Linked DNA regions of Homo sapiens: region 2 is linked to region 1. Evidence: promoter capture Hi-C in 16 types of primary human blood cells and fetal thymus (Javierre and others, 2016). All regions are on one chromosome and are shown on one strand. The core of a region is centred on a gene start or on the middle of the fragment in contact, and the rest is flanking DNA. Distances in the headings are between cores, read along the strand shown.

The links. Contacts are between HindIII fragments. The CHiCAGO score rates a contact against its expected background, and 5 or more counts as called.
Region 2: a contact is called between a fragment that was not itself captured here and the fragment with the promoter of EGFLAM-AS1 in region 1, in 1 of 17 cell types (endothelial precursors). The highest score is 5.0, in endothelial precursors.

What each region holds. Positions count from the first base shown.
Region 1 is chr5:38,423,535-38,430,021 of GRCh38, forward strand. It overlaps EGFLAM-AS1 (EGFLAM antisense RNA 1), which reads right to left and starts at 3,842. Exons shown (of 2, transcript NR_046737.1): 1 at 3,558-3,842; 2 at 1,321-1,547. EGFLAM (EGF like, fibronectin type III and laminin G domains) reads left to right here. Exons shown (of 22, transcript NM_152403.4): 13 at 1,433-1,558; 14 at 3,475-3,718. It also overlaps the pseudogene LOC124901186. RefSeq lists an enhancer at 3,064-4,263. The HindIII fragment of the contact is 14,108 bases long and covers 1-6,487 here.
Region 2 is chr5:38,674,313-38,680,799 of GRCh38, forward strand. No RefSeq gene overlaps it. Among named protein-coding and RNA genes, the nearest start is that of LINC01265, 43 kb to the right of the region's middle. The HindIII fragment of the contact is 4,165 bases long and covers 1,740-5,904 here.

The DNA.
Region 1 (6,487 bases), core at 2,592-5,091:
CTGTGGATCCAGCCAAGCTCTGGGAAGGAATCACAACCCACAGAAATTGGCGGGGCTCAGGGACCTTTGAGAGTTTGGCTCTTTAAGATCAAAGTCAGCCAGCATCTCTGTGGAGGCTGTGAATGCTGGGGGTGACATTCTTAGGGCTGTGGCTGGAGACCACTGGTCATGTCTGCCTGAACATTCAGTAGCCACCAGCTGGAATTCACAGAGGCTAGCCACCCCCAGCTGGGGAGGCAAGCCATCTGCACGGGCTTTAATCAAATTCTGTTAGCAGTCCCTGAAGTCAGTCTCCTCTCCTGGGTCTAACCTGGGTGCCTGGCCTTTACCCCTCCTCCCAGTGAGTCTTTATGAAAAGACTGGACCAATTCAAGGAGGGAAGGGTGAGAGATTCATCCTGCCGAGATGACACACTCAGGCCAAGGAGGGCTCCTGCCCTCACAGGGTGGGCTACCAGCTCATGCAGAGGGCAGCCTTGAAGACTGGGAGAGAGCACAGCTGGACCCTTCACTTCCAGAGGCACGCCCTTCTACCTCCACCCCCAGAAAAAGTGTTTTGTACTCCCTCATGTGGTTCTGGGCCAGATGGTGGTCCATCTGTCTAACTGATTTCTTACACACAAAGAGAAAACACAAAGAAGCAGAAGAAAAACAGCCCATGAAAAGTCCATTTGTTTTCCTCTGATGACCTGCACTTGAAAATGACAAAGGATACCCTTTCTGGATCTCTCTGATCTGTTTGGTGAAGAGAACTCACTCATCAGATGTTGAGCCTTTCAGCCTTCTTACCACAGGCCACCTTTCTGTCCCTCATCAGGGTGTAACTTTGGAAGTAGAAATAGGGATTCTGAAACCCATGTGCCAATGTATTATGGGGCCCTCCCTCCCTGCTCCCTACCCCAGACAGAGAAGTTGACAATCCAGGTGAGTTAATCAGCTTAGACGTGGCTGGGTAACTCCTTCTGTGCCTACCTTGCTTGTCTCAACTTTGAACCAACAAGGCAGCAGCACTTAAGCTAATTGGGGTCATGCAATTTAGAATGCTTTTAACATAAACACCCTGTTGACATTGGAGGGATTGAAATATGCTCTGTTGGGAGCAAGAGAGAGATGAATTAAAGCAGAAACAGCTTAGTCATCCCAGTTAGTGGTCATAAAATTGCCCAGAAATGTATTATTTGATTTATTGTGTCCATCATGTTTTTTAAAGTCTCTATGGCTCTTCATACAGGACAAACCAAAATCAAATTAAAATGAAGAGCAGGTTCCACTTATCCTGAAAGCCCATTTGCAGTTGTGCAGAGCTGCAAATCAACAGGAGTAAGAACTGAAATGTATTTATTCAGAACCATGAGCTGCTGGTGGGGTCAGCGCCACTGTGTTGGACTGGCACACATGGAGGATTGGCTTTGTAATTCCCATTCTGTATTTAGGGGAATGCAGCAGTGGAATCTGTGATGAGGCCTCGTGCATCCATGGTGGCACCTGCACAGCAATCAAAGCCGACTCCTACATTTGCCTCTGTCCCCTTGGGTTTAAAGGTCGACACTGTGAAGATGGTGAGAAAGAAGCAAGTTGAAGGCGGTTTCTATCTGCATGTTAATTTGTGTAGATGTACTTTATCATCAATATAGTTTCTTTGTTAATTTGTTTGTTTGTTTTTGAGACAAAGGCTCCCTCTCTTACCCAGGCCGGAGTGCAGTGGCGCATCTCGGCTCACTGCAACCTCTGCCTCCCGGGTTCAAGTGATTCTCTTCTGCCTCAGCTCCCGAGTAGCTGGAACTACAGGCGCCCAGCTAATTTTTGTATTTTTAGTAGAGATGGGATTTCACCATGTTGCCCAGGCTGCTCTCAAACTCTTGACCTCAAGTGATCCACCCGCCTCGGCCTCCCAAAGTGCTGGGATTACAGGCGTGAGCCACCACGCCAGGCCTCATCAATGTACTTTTAACAAATCTAACAAAGCCCCATACATTTTTATGGGATCAACATTGCTTTGTTGGGAGAGATGGGGGAAACTTTTTAAACAAGGTTGGAGTGTCTCTGAGTGCCAAAATTTGTTTGGTAATGAGAACTCACTCATCTGATGTTGAGCCTTTCAGCACTTCTTACTGCAGGGCACCTCCGTCCCTCAGCCAAACATATGTTCATTTCAAGATGCTAAGAATCAGTGGGCTCCTCTTGGCCCTTGAATAACTTTTAAAAAGCCTGTATTGGTATGGTTTGTATCAGACTGAATTCAAAGCCTTTAAAGCTCAGGCTCATGCTCTTTAGAATTTCTGTCAATTTCTGATAAAAGATTGGGAAGATGAGGCCAGGCGCAGTGGCTCACGCCTATAATCCCAGCACTCTGGGAGGCCGAGGTGGGCGGATCACGAGGCCAACGTGGTGAAACTCCGTTTCTACTAAAAATACAAAAATTAGCTGGGTGTGGTGGTGCACAGCTGTAATCCCAGCTACTCGGGAGGCTGAGGCAGGAGAATTGCTTGAACCCAGGAGGCGGAGGTTGCAGTGAGCCGAGATAGCACCACTGTACTCCAATCTGGGTGACAGAGCGAGACTCCATCTTGGGAAAAAAAAAAAAGATAGGGAAGGTAGACACAGAAACGTTAACAATGTGATGGGACAAAAGTAACCTTTTTTTGTACTGTTCTACTAAATTATGCCACATTTTAATACTGTATATACAGAGAGTATGTAAATATATATACATGCACACACATGTGTATATAAACATGGAAACACATGCACACAAATACACATATGTGCGCTCACACAGGCAAATAATAACAGAAAATTTCAAAGATTTTGGAAAATCATGGAGGGTTCCAAAAGTGATTTTGGAAAATCATTTTTGCAGAATTCTGAAATTAAAATAAAAAGAAAATAAAACTGAGGCTAAGATCACAAAACTAGTCAAATTCTTCCCTAATTCAGATTTGGACCTAAGATACCATATTGGGGAAAACTTTTGTGATCTCAAATCTCATGTCACCTAAAAGAGGGCATGTGAGTCAGGGTAAGCCAATGCTGTTACATACCAGCTCATATTTCAGTAGCCTTACATAATCAAGGCTGGTTCTTGCTCATATTACAAAATCACTGCAGGTCAAAGATGGTGGTGAGAGAGGGGGTTCTGCTCCACACAGTTATACAGGGACACAGTTTCCTTCCATCTAATGGCTCTTCTAGGGCCTTAGAGTCCTCCACTGATACTTGCATCCTGCCAGCACGTGAGAGGAGAGAAAGAGCATGGAGGATGGAGGGAAGTTTTAGGGGCCAGACTTAGGGTGCTCTATGATTCTTCCACCCATGTTCTACTGGCCAGAATTCAGTCACACCACCAACCTAACTGCAGGGCTGCTGGGAATTGTAGTTTAGGTCTGTACCCAGGAGGGAAAGAACACAGCTATGGGTGCACATCTGGCCAGTTTCTGCCACAGAGGGATTTCTAACACCATGCTTGTTTTTTCAGCTTTCACCTTGACCATTCCTCAGTTCAGAGAGTCTCTGAGATCTTACGCTGCAACTCCCTGGCCACTGGAGCCCCAGCATTACCTTTCCTTCATGGAATTTGAGATCACATTTCGGCCAGACTCAGGAGATGGTGTCCTCCTGTACAGCTATGACACAGGCAGCAAAGACTTCCTGTCCATCAACTTGGCAGGGGGCCACGTGGAGTTCCGCTTTGACTGTGGCTCTGGGACCGGTGTCCTCAGGTGAGGGCTGAAAACTTCTGGGACTCTTTCCCTTAAAAAGGCAAATAGTAACTGCTTCAGAAAAAAACCAAATCGCCATTCAACAGCTCACACTCATCCTGTCTTCTCTACATGCTTATCTTCTGAAACTTGTCCTGACTTGTCCTGCTTCAGGCAGATGACAGGCTTCCTATAGAGAGTGCTCTCCTGCCCACAAGGCTTCCTTTTCTCAAATAACTACCCAACAGGTAGCAATTGTATGCTTCAAACTATGGAAAATGGACTTGCTTCAGGTGGAGGTAAACTGCCTCCATTTCCACCTAAAGTTATGTCATGTCATCCGCAGAAACTTGATGAACTGTAACTAGTCAGCATCTCATACAGAGCATCACATGATGGGCACCCAGCAAATACATGTCAACTAGTAAAAAAGTATTAACAAATATTTTTGAACAAAAATATCCTTGATGACCTCACTCTAAATATTCACTTTCCTCTTGAACTATTTCTTTAATGGAAATTGACAGTGAATCATCAGCAATGCAGAGACCCGTTCCCTAAGCAATATGCTCAAGAAAGATGTGTGATGAGTGGTTTCAATAGCATAGCAGGAAATGGGTGCTTCTGCAGTACTTGCTGGTATTTGCAGAATTGGTGTAAGTAGTCAAAACTTTCCTACTGTTATCTAGTTTGTACTATTAAATTACTTAGCAGGTCGATTGTTCCTTGGAGCCTGTAGTTGGTAGATGCAGACGCTTTTATTTGTTTATGTCTCCCATCTTTTTATTGTGTTGATGGTAGTTTTAACCTTCAAGCCAGAGGGGCCACTAATCGCATGCAGACATGCTTCTTGTTCCTACATTTGTCTAATTCGTCTTTTTTGAAACTCACTAGGATGTTTTGCTCCATGGTGCCCTGTAACAGGGTATCAGTTAGTCTGTTGTTTCAAAGAATATTGCAAACTGTTTTCAATCTTTATCCATATTGCTAGACTGTCATGTTTAAAAAGAGTATGTAGGTGAGATGCTACAACCATGCATTGCCCTTAACTACTGATCATTTTTCCTGGCTGATAGAAAATGCTCACTGCATTAGGTTTTAACAGTTCTTAAAAAGGATGGTTTGTTTTTGTCCTTGTGGCTGAATTCCTGCACATCAGTGACACCTTCCCCTCTAGGGGAACGGACAAATATTGTTGTACCTCTGGTTATGCAAAAACATCCTATATTTCAAGACAACTTTGGTGGGGATTTAATTGATTCAATTTACATATGATTATGCAAAATAGCCTAAGCAATTCACTTAGAACTGTATGTCAAGTTGACAAAGGAAGACACCTTGAATATCACCTTGCACTTTTAAATGGTTTTCTTCCTGGATAGGGAATGACCAGAAAGATCCAGGAGAGGTTCTGGGCTCATCAGCCCTCCTCCTGGACAGACTACCCCCTCCACACTGCCTCTCTGCAGTGGCAGCTCCAGCTGTGGGGTCACAAGCACATGGAACCCTTAGAAGTCCAGCATTTCTCTCTTTCATAACTCTGTGCTTATTTTTGACACGAGGTGCTTTTAATTTTTTTTTGTAAATTTACTAAGTTATTGTTTCACTGCCTGTCAGCAAAGGCAACTGGAAAAAGAATTTTTAAGAATTAGGTGATGAAAATGAGGCAAGAGTTTCTGAGGGACAAACCACCATCTGCCCCCTTATCCTATCCCCTCCTGAGCGTAAGCTAACAACAGTGATTACTCTTGGTGTTTCAGATGCCCCATTGGAAGCTGTTTATTTTGAAAACCATTTCAAAGACTTCTTGCTCAATTAAGACAATGCAGTGAAAACTCAAACTACAGGAAGTTGTGGAATTGGCCAGATCATTTTAACTTTAGGAATAGGATAAGATGGGCAAATTCATTATGAACTTGATTAAAAAATCACGACAATTGGAATGAGTTCTTGATGGCTGTGATCGATAAAAGGATGTTGAGGAAGGTGGCATATTGACAGCAAATGACCTCTGCAGTACAAAAACATGAAATGGCTCTGTTATGGAGATAGACCACTTAAAAAGGGCTGCTTATTTCTTTATTGCATATTGATTTAGCCAAGGTGATTAAATTCTAATTGCTAAGAACAGATCACAAAATCATTTGCCAAAGCAAAAATCAAGTGAGGGGGTGGTGACCTTTCAATAATTGTGCCCATTGGTATTCCTCATGGTTTTCTAAAGATGATCCAGGACCACAAGATAATTGGGAAGTTCAGCGAGGGCCAGGAACTAGACATTGCTAGAAATACAAATGCAATAATGAGTCTCTTTCTGCACACCTCACTATAAAACGTAATGAGTAAAACTTGCATAAATATCATTAAACTTTAAGCACTTCCACTTTGAATGAATAATTGAACTTTTAATGTAATTTTAATCATTTTTACAATATCAGAAAATATGGAATCTATTTCCCTCCCAATATTTTATTATGAAAAATTTCAAACATATAGAAAAATTGGAAGAATTGTACAGTAAGCATCCTGATACCGAGCACCTATAGTCTGTAATTAACGTTTTGCTATATTTGCCTCATCACATATCTAGCCATTATTATATCTGTCCATCCATCCTTCTTAATTTTTAAAAAAAAATTTTAATGACCAAAACAAAGTATCTAAAACTGCAGCTTCTCAAAGAACCACTTGTTCTTGCCCATCTGTTCCTCTCTTCAAACTTGACCTTGGCCTCCCATTGGGCCTTGTGGTTAAGAGCAGGGTCTCTGAAGACATCTTTATTGATAACAG
Region 2 (6,487 bases), core at 2,572-5,071, 250 kb after region 1:
TGGTTGCCATTTATTCATGTGGGGGAAAGAGAGAGAATGGCTGTTTTTATAATGCTTCTCCCTGTCTTACACAAATTGTTGCACTAATTAAAAATAAAAAGGAGAAAGTATACCTCATTTTGTGAGGCTTGTATGGTCTTGATACCAAATCCAGTACAAGAAGAAAAAATTGTTCATTGATCATTTTCACTTACCATGAAAGTGAAAATCCTAAGTGGTAGAAATGATCTAACACAATCATCAAATTTAATTTTAAGATTTTAGATGCAATTTCCTTTATAGTTAGGAATAAGACATGTATAGCTTGGTGTCATTGCCACACCAACAAAATACAGAAAGCCCTGATCAATGCATTAAAAAGAGGAGAGAAGAAAACCAAATTGTTATTATTTATAGCTACAATACCAGATGGAGATCAGATGCATGGGAAACCTGAGAATATCAGTAAAATATTAAAATTAATAAGGGAGTTCAGCAAATTTGTTAGATTTTAAAACAATATACAAAACTCTGTGTTCCCATAAAAAACAATAATTTAATATAAAATACAATACAAGATATCATTCACAGTAGCAACAAAAACTATAAAGTATGTAGAGATTAACCAAAGAAAACACAGGATGTTTACAGAGAAAAAATTTAAAATTATGAAAGCACATACCAGAAAACCTAAATAAACGGAACTCTAAATACCATATTAACAGCTTGCTTTAACCTTGTAATTAATTTTTCTTAATCTCTAAATTCAATGTAATTACAATTAAAATCCCAGAAGGATTTTTAACATGGAAAACTGATTCTGAAATTTATGTGGAAAAAAGAAATATTTTCAAAGAGTTAAAGCAAAACCAAAAAAGAAGATATATTAGATATTAGGATATATTACAAATGAAGGAAATTTTTATCAATAAAACAGAAATGGCAGACTAAAAGAAGCTATTGCCAACTACAGCAGAAAAATAATTGTTTTAAAATTTATATCTATATAAAGTATATAGTTAAAATATAAGAAACGTTTGTTAATGCAGTTAAGTCAATATTGAAAGTGAAGTTCAAAGCAGGAATTTGGGGAGAAAAATTCACCCTATGAGGTAATCAGGCAAATTAGAAAGTCATAATTCTGCAAACCAGCAAAGTTAGGAAACAGCAAGAATAAAAAAACGGGCAAAGGTATGGCTAGGCCAATCAAAGGAAGAAAACCACATGGCTAAAAATTATATGAAGAATGTTCTACTTCACTGGCAACCAGATAAATACAAATGAAATAAAAAATGATACACCATTTAAAATGTAGAGATTGGTAAAAATTAGAAAGTCAGACCATAACAAGTGCTAGTGAGGATACAGGGAGTTGTAAACCTCATACATGACTAGGGGAAGCTTAAAGAGGTGCAGCTTTTCTAGAAAGCAACCTGGCAAAACTTGGTGAAATTATGACTGCATACACACTGTGAGCCAACAATCCAATTCCTGGGCATACAATTCAAATAAATTGAATATCAGCGGGTACAAAGACATATTAGAAGATGCACATCCCAGACTGTTTGTGGTAACAACGATCTGAAGGCAATCTACATGTCTGTTGATGAGGGAAATTGATAAGGAAAATATGTGATATGACGTATGGAATACTATGAGTTCATCACACATAATGAACAAGATTTATTTACACAGAGCAACACGGATGGGATCTCAAAATACACTGTTGAGTGCAAAAAGAAAAAAAGGATGAGATTAGAAGCTTCATAGCATTTATGTAAATGAAAACCACTGACACTAAATAACATTATTTTTCAAGGGCATATTTGTCTAAATAAACACGGGGAAAGTGGATTGCAAAGACATAGAGTAAATACACTATAGTGAATGCACATAGCAGGAGGGTTGTGATACAGGAGATGAAGAGGAAAAATGTGAAAATAATATGAGGGGCTTTACATAGACGAGTGTCGATAATGAGTCATGAAAAGAAGAGTTGACTCAATTCTGCCCACCTGAGGGCTAAGAAAGATAAAGCAAAGTAAGGAAAAGAAACAAAATGTGTGTTGAGAAACCCTTCCAGCTGATCTCTGTCTCTGTTCTGAAACCTCTGTTCCACTTCTTCAGAAATGAATTAGCCCATTCATTAGGATCCAGTCAAAGAGAAGGTGTCTTCCTTAGGATAGTTGCTTAACTTGTTAAGCCTTAGTTTCTTTACTGGTAAATAATGCCCTCACCTTCCAGATCTGATGGGTAAATTAAAAGGGTGACCTTTGTAGGTCCCCACAAAGTCTCTGGTTCAGATAGGTGCTCAGTATCCAGCAGCCATTATTACATGTAAACAAAGAATGCTAGACCCTGACAAAATCTGAGAGGTGAACGAGTTAATTCTTATTCCATGAATGCGGGGCAGGATGACAGGATGGAGTCTGGGACTTGCCTACAGTCCACAGATGGGGGGTTGGGGATTGAAACAAGACCACAGCTCAACTCACTCCTCATCCAGCTTTTTCCACTACCCCTCATCACCTCCTCGGGCTCTAGAAGATATATACAAACTCATTTTTCTGGGACTAAAAGGAATTTTTATTCATGACATGTTTAAATCCATGTAAATGTCAACATTTCTGGCCAATGGAGTGTTGTGAAAGGAATAAACAATACAGGAAATAGAAAAGGTTATTTATCCACATCCGCTCTTTTTAAAGGCTATAATGCTGTTTCCAAATCATGCCAGTGCTTGTCAGAGATTATAAGGAAAAGTGCCTACAGAGTTGGGAAGAGGAAATCACAATGCAGATGATTATGGATCAGGGTATATGTGATGGTTAATTTTGTTTGTCAACTTGATTGGGTCAAAGATACCCAAATAGGTGGTTAACCATTATTTCTGGGTGCATCTGTGAGGGAGTTTCTGGAAGAGATTCACATTTAAGTTGGTGGACCGAGTAAAGCAGATGGTCCTTTCTAATTTGGGGCAAGGGATGGGTGGCGGGCATCATCCAATGCAGTGAGTATGGAACAAAAAGACAGAAGAAGATTAAATTTGGTATCTGCTTGACTGTATGAGCTGGGATATCGATCTTCTCTGGCCCCCAGCCCTCTTGGATCTCCGTCCTTCAGATGCAGGCTGGAAGCTACACCATTAACTGTCAGGCTTTCAGGCTTTTGAACTACACCACCGGCTCTCCTAGGTCTCCAGCTTGCAGACAGCAGATCACGGAATTTTTCAGCCTCCATAATTTTGTTCCAATAACTTCCAGTGAATCTCTTTGTATATTGGTTCTATTGAATCTGTTTTCTCTGCAGAACCCTGATTCATTCAGCTTACTAAACCAGTCAGCAGGCTATGGATGGCACTTTGAAGGCCATAATTTTGAGACCCTGCAAAGCAGGTGAAGGAGAGAAATTTATAACTAAGGCTCTTCACCCATTCTCCAGAAGAATGCCTTTATTTCTTTGTCTCCAAAATCTAATGTAGAAGCCAGCAAGCTGCTGCCAACAGCAGGGAGCCTGACATGAGATGGAACACTGCTGTCCCTGTAAAGGAGTCAACACCATGAACCGTTTTGAATACATGAGAACAGCCAACAGCCACCAAGGCCATACAATATCTGGCGACCCAGTCAGGATGAGAATATTGGCTTTAGCCATGATAAAGATAGTGACAGTTTATATGAGGGTTAGCATCAAAACAGGACAGTTTATAAGAACCCCAAAGCTGAAAATCTTTTAAAAACCCTAAGCCAAAATCTCGATGATGTGCTGGTACAAGGGGCGTTATTATTTAACTAAATATTAATAGATTCCTGTCCTTTTGGCTTACTTCTCTGCTCCCTCTCTCCTTCAGCTATTTTCTATTATTTTTTCCATACACACAAATGCAGAGCTTTTTGGTACTTGCTTTGTAATCCAGTGCATAGAGATGTTGATTCCCATCTCTAGGGGCAAACAATTGTACTATGTTTTGTTTTTTTCCCTATTGTATGCCAAAAGAAAACAAACCTATTCTGTTCTCTGTTTATAGAACTGTCTTTGTCTAGCTGTCTGTCTACTTATCTATCTATATCTATCTATCTGTCTATCTATACCTACCTATTTTATACATATTTTTTATTTCAATAGCCTTCGGGGGTACACATGGGTTTTGGTAACATGGATGAATTGTATAGTGATGAAGCCTCAGACTTTAGTGCACTCCTCAACTGAATACTGTACATTGTACCCAATATGTAGTGTTTTTTGTTTGTTTGTTTGTTTTTAGACCGAGTCTCGTTCTGTCACCAGGCTGGAGTGTAGTGGTGCCATCTCGGCTTACTGCAACCTCCGACTCTCTGGTTCAAGCAATTCTCCTGCCTCAGCCTCCTGAGTAGCTGCGATTACAGGCATGCGCCACCATGCCCAGCTAATTTTTGTATTTGTAGTAGAGACGTAGTTTCACCATGTTGGCCAAGATGGTTTTGATCTCCTGACCTCGCGATCCACCTGCCTTGGCCTCCCAAAGTGCTGAGATTATAGGCATGAGCCACCGCGCCCAGCCCAATAAGTAGTTTTTTTATTCCTAGCCCTCTTTCCACCCTCCCTCTTTCTGAGTGACCAGTGTCCATTCAGCACTGTCTTTCTAATCACAATTCTTCCTGTGAACTCTGACTTCTGTTGGCTATCTGTTTTAGCCCTTTCAACAGAAATGAAAATACAGAAAGATGTTCAATTGGTGGGAGAATTGCCTGAGCCTGGGAGGTGGAGGTTGCAATGAGCCGAGATCACGCCACTGCACTCCAGCCTGGGTGACACAGTGAGATCCTGTCTTAAAAAAAAAAAAAAAAAAAAAAGATGTTCAATCTTTTTAGGGTGACAGAGCAAATCTGTAACTCTACTTACAGTCAAATACCAGGTACTGATGTCCCAAAATTTCTTCTTGGAAAGAAGGAACCATTTTATTTTCATTGGCACCAATCATAGGATGTTTTCTTCACTATTTAATTTTGAATAACACAGTTCTTTTCAGGGAAGACACATTATCCTGAAACACCCTGAATTAATGCTAGATTTGAATGTCTATAAGTAGGATTTGTGAACTTTGATAAATATTTAATCATTCTTTCATTTGGGTGAATGGCCTTACATTTTCAAGAATGGGTGTTAATGTGAGTGAGCCTTTTAAATATCACTTTTTTGAAGTATTACAGTAAGTGATTGCATAGTAAACATTCAGAATATGCAACTTCAGGAAGAATGAGAGAAAACTGTCCTAATACTATGCTGTGGCTTGGGATAAAATTGAGATATGATGGAGGAAAAATATGTCAATTACCAGATATCTTTATGTGAAATATAAGATAATATATAAAATGGGACTGGGCATGGGGGCTCATGCCTGTAATGCCAGCACTTTGGGAGGCCAAGGTGGGTAGTTCTCTCGAGCCCAGGAGTTTGAGACCAGTCTGGGCAACATGGTGAGACTCCATCTCAACAAAAAAATATACAAATTAGCTGAGCATGGTGGTGTGCACCTATAGTCCCAGCTATGTGGGAGGCTAAGGTGGGAGGATCACTTGAGCCTGGGGTGGCTGAGGCTACTGTGAGCCATGATCATGTCTCACATGATCATGGCAGTGGCACTTTAGCCTGGGTGACAGAGTGAGACCCTGTCTCAAAAAAATAAAAAGTTAATATGCTTATATAAAACGATATTAACACATCAATTTTATAAGTATATATAAAATGATTTATAATATGTGTATAACTAAATTAATACATTAACTATTTTTAAGCAGATGATTCATGATTTTTAGCTATGTTCCTAGAATTTTTGGTGACGGGAAGGGGAGCATTTACTTGGGCAATGGGAGTGTCTCATATTTGACATTGCCTTATATTAGGGCATATACTGTAGATGCATAAACAATGGTTGAATCCTAACCAAGCTTGGGGTGGGGGGAGGAAGAACAATGAAGACATTCACAACAAATTATTTTCTTTTCTCTGTGTTATCAAGAAAATGTGTTTACCAGTCTTTATCTTGATTCCAGATCCACAGCAAATGATGACTCTTCTCTATGTATGACGATGATGGTTTGTGAACCAAACTCTGGATCATATAAAAATGAGTGTTTGAAATACTACTTCAAAAGTAGCCACTTCTGAAGATTCTATACATTTATTCAGAGAATGACAGTCATGGGCCAAACTGCTTGGGAACGCCTCTTGGAGGACTGCCTTCAAATCATCACTTCACAGGCTGGACGACAGGGCCAGGCTCCACACTTTATAGACAGTCTTTTTGTTTTCTTTTTTTTTTTTAACCCCAAATGGTTATACTCATGCCATTGACCAGCTTGGCCTCTGGATGACTTTTGGCTCTTTCCAGAAATCATTAAATTCACTGTCTTCCACTGACTCCCATCCCCCATCCCACCCCAAAGGAAGAAGACTTGGCACAGAGTAGGACTTTCAGAAAAATGCTCTGCAGGCTCTGAAGACAATTCTGCGAGAGGAGTTCCAAATG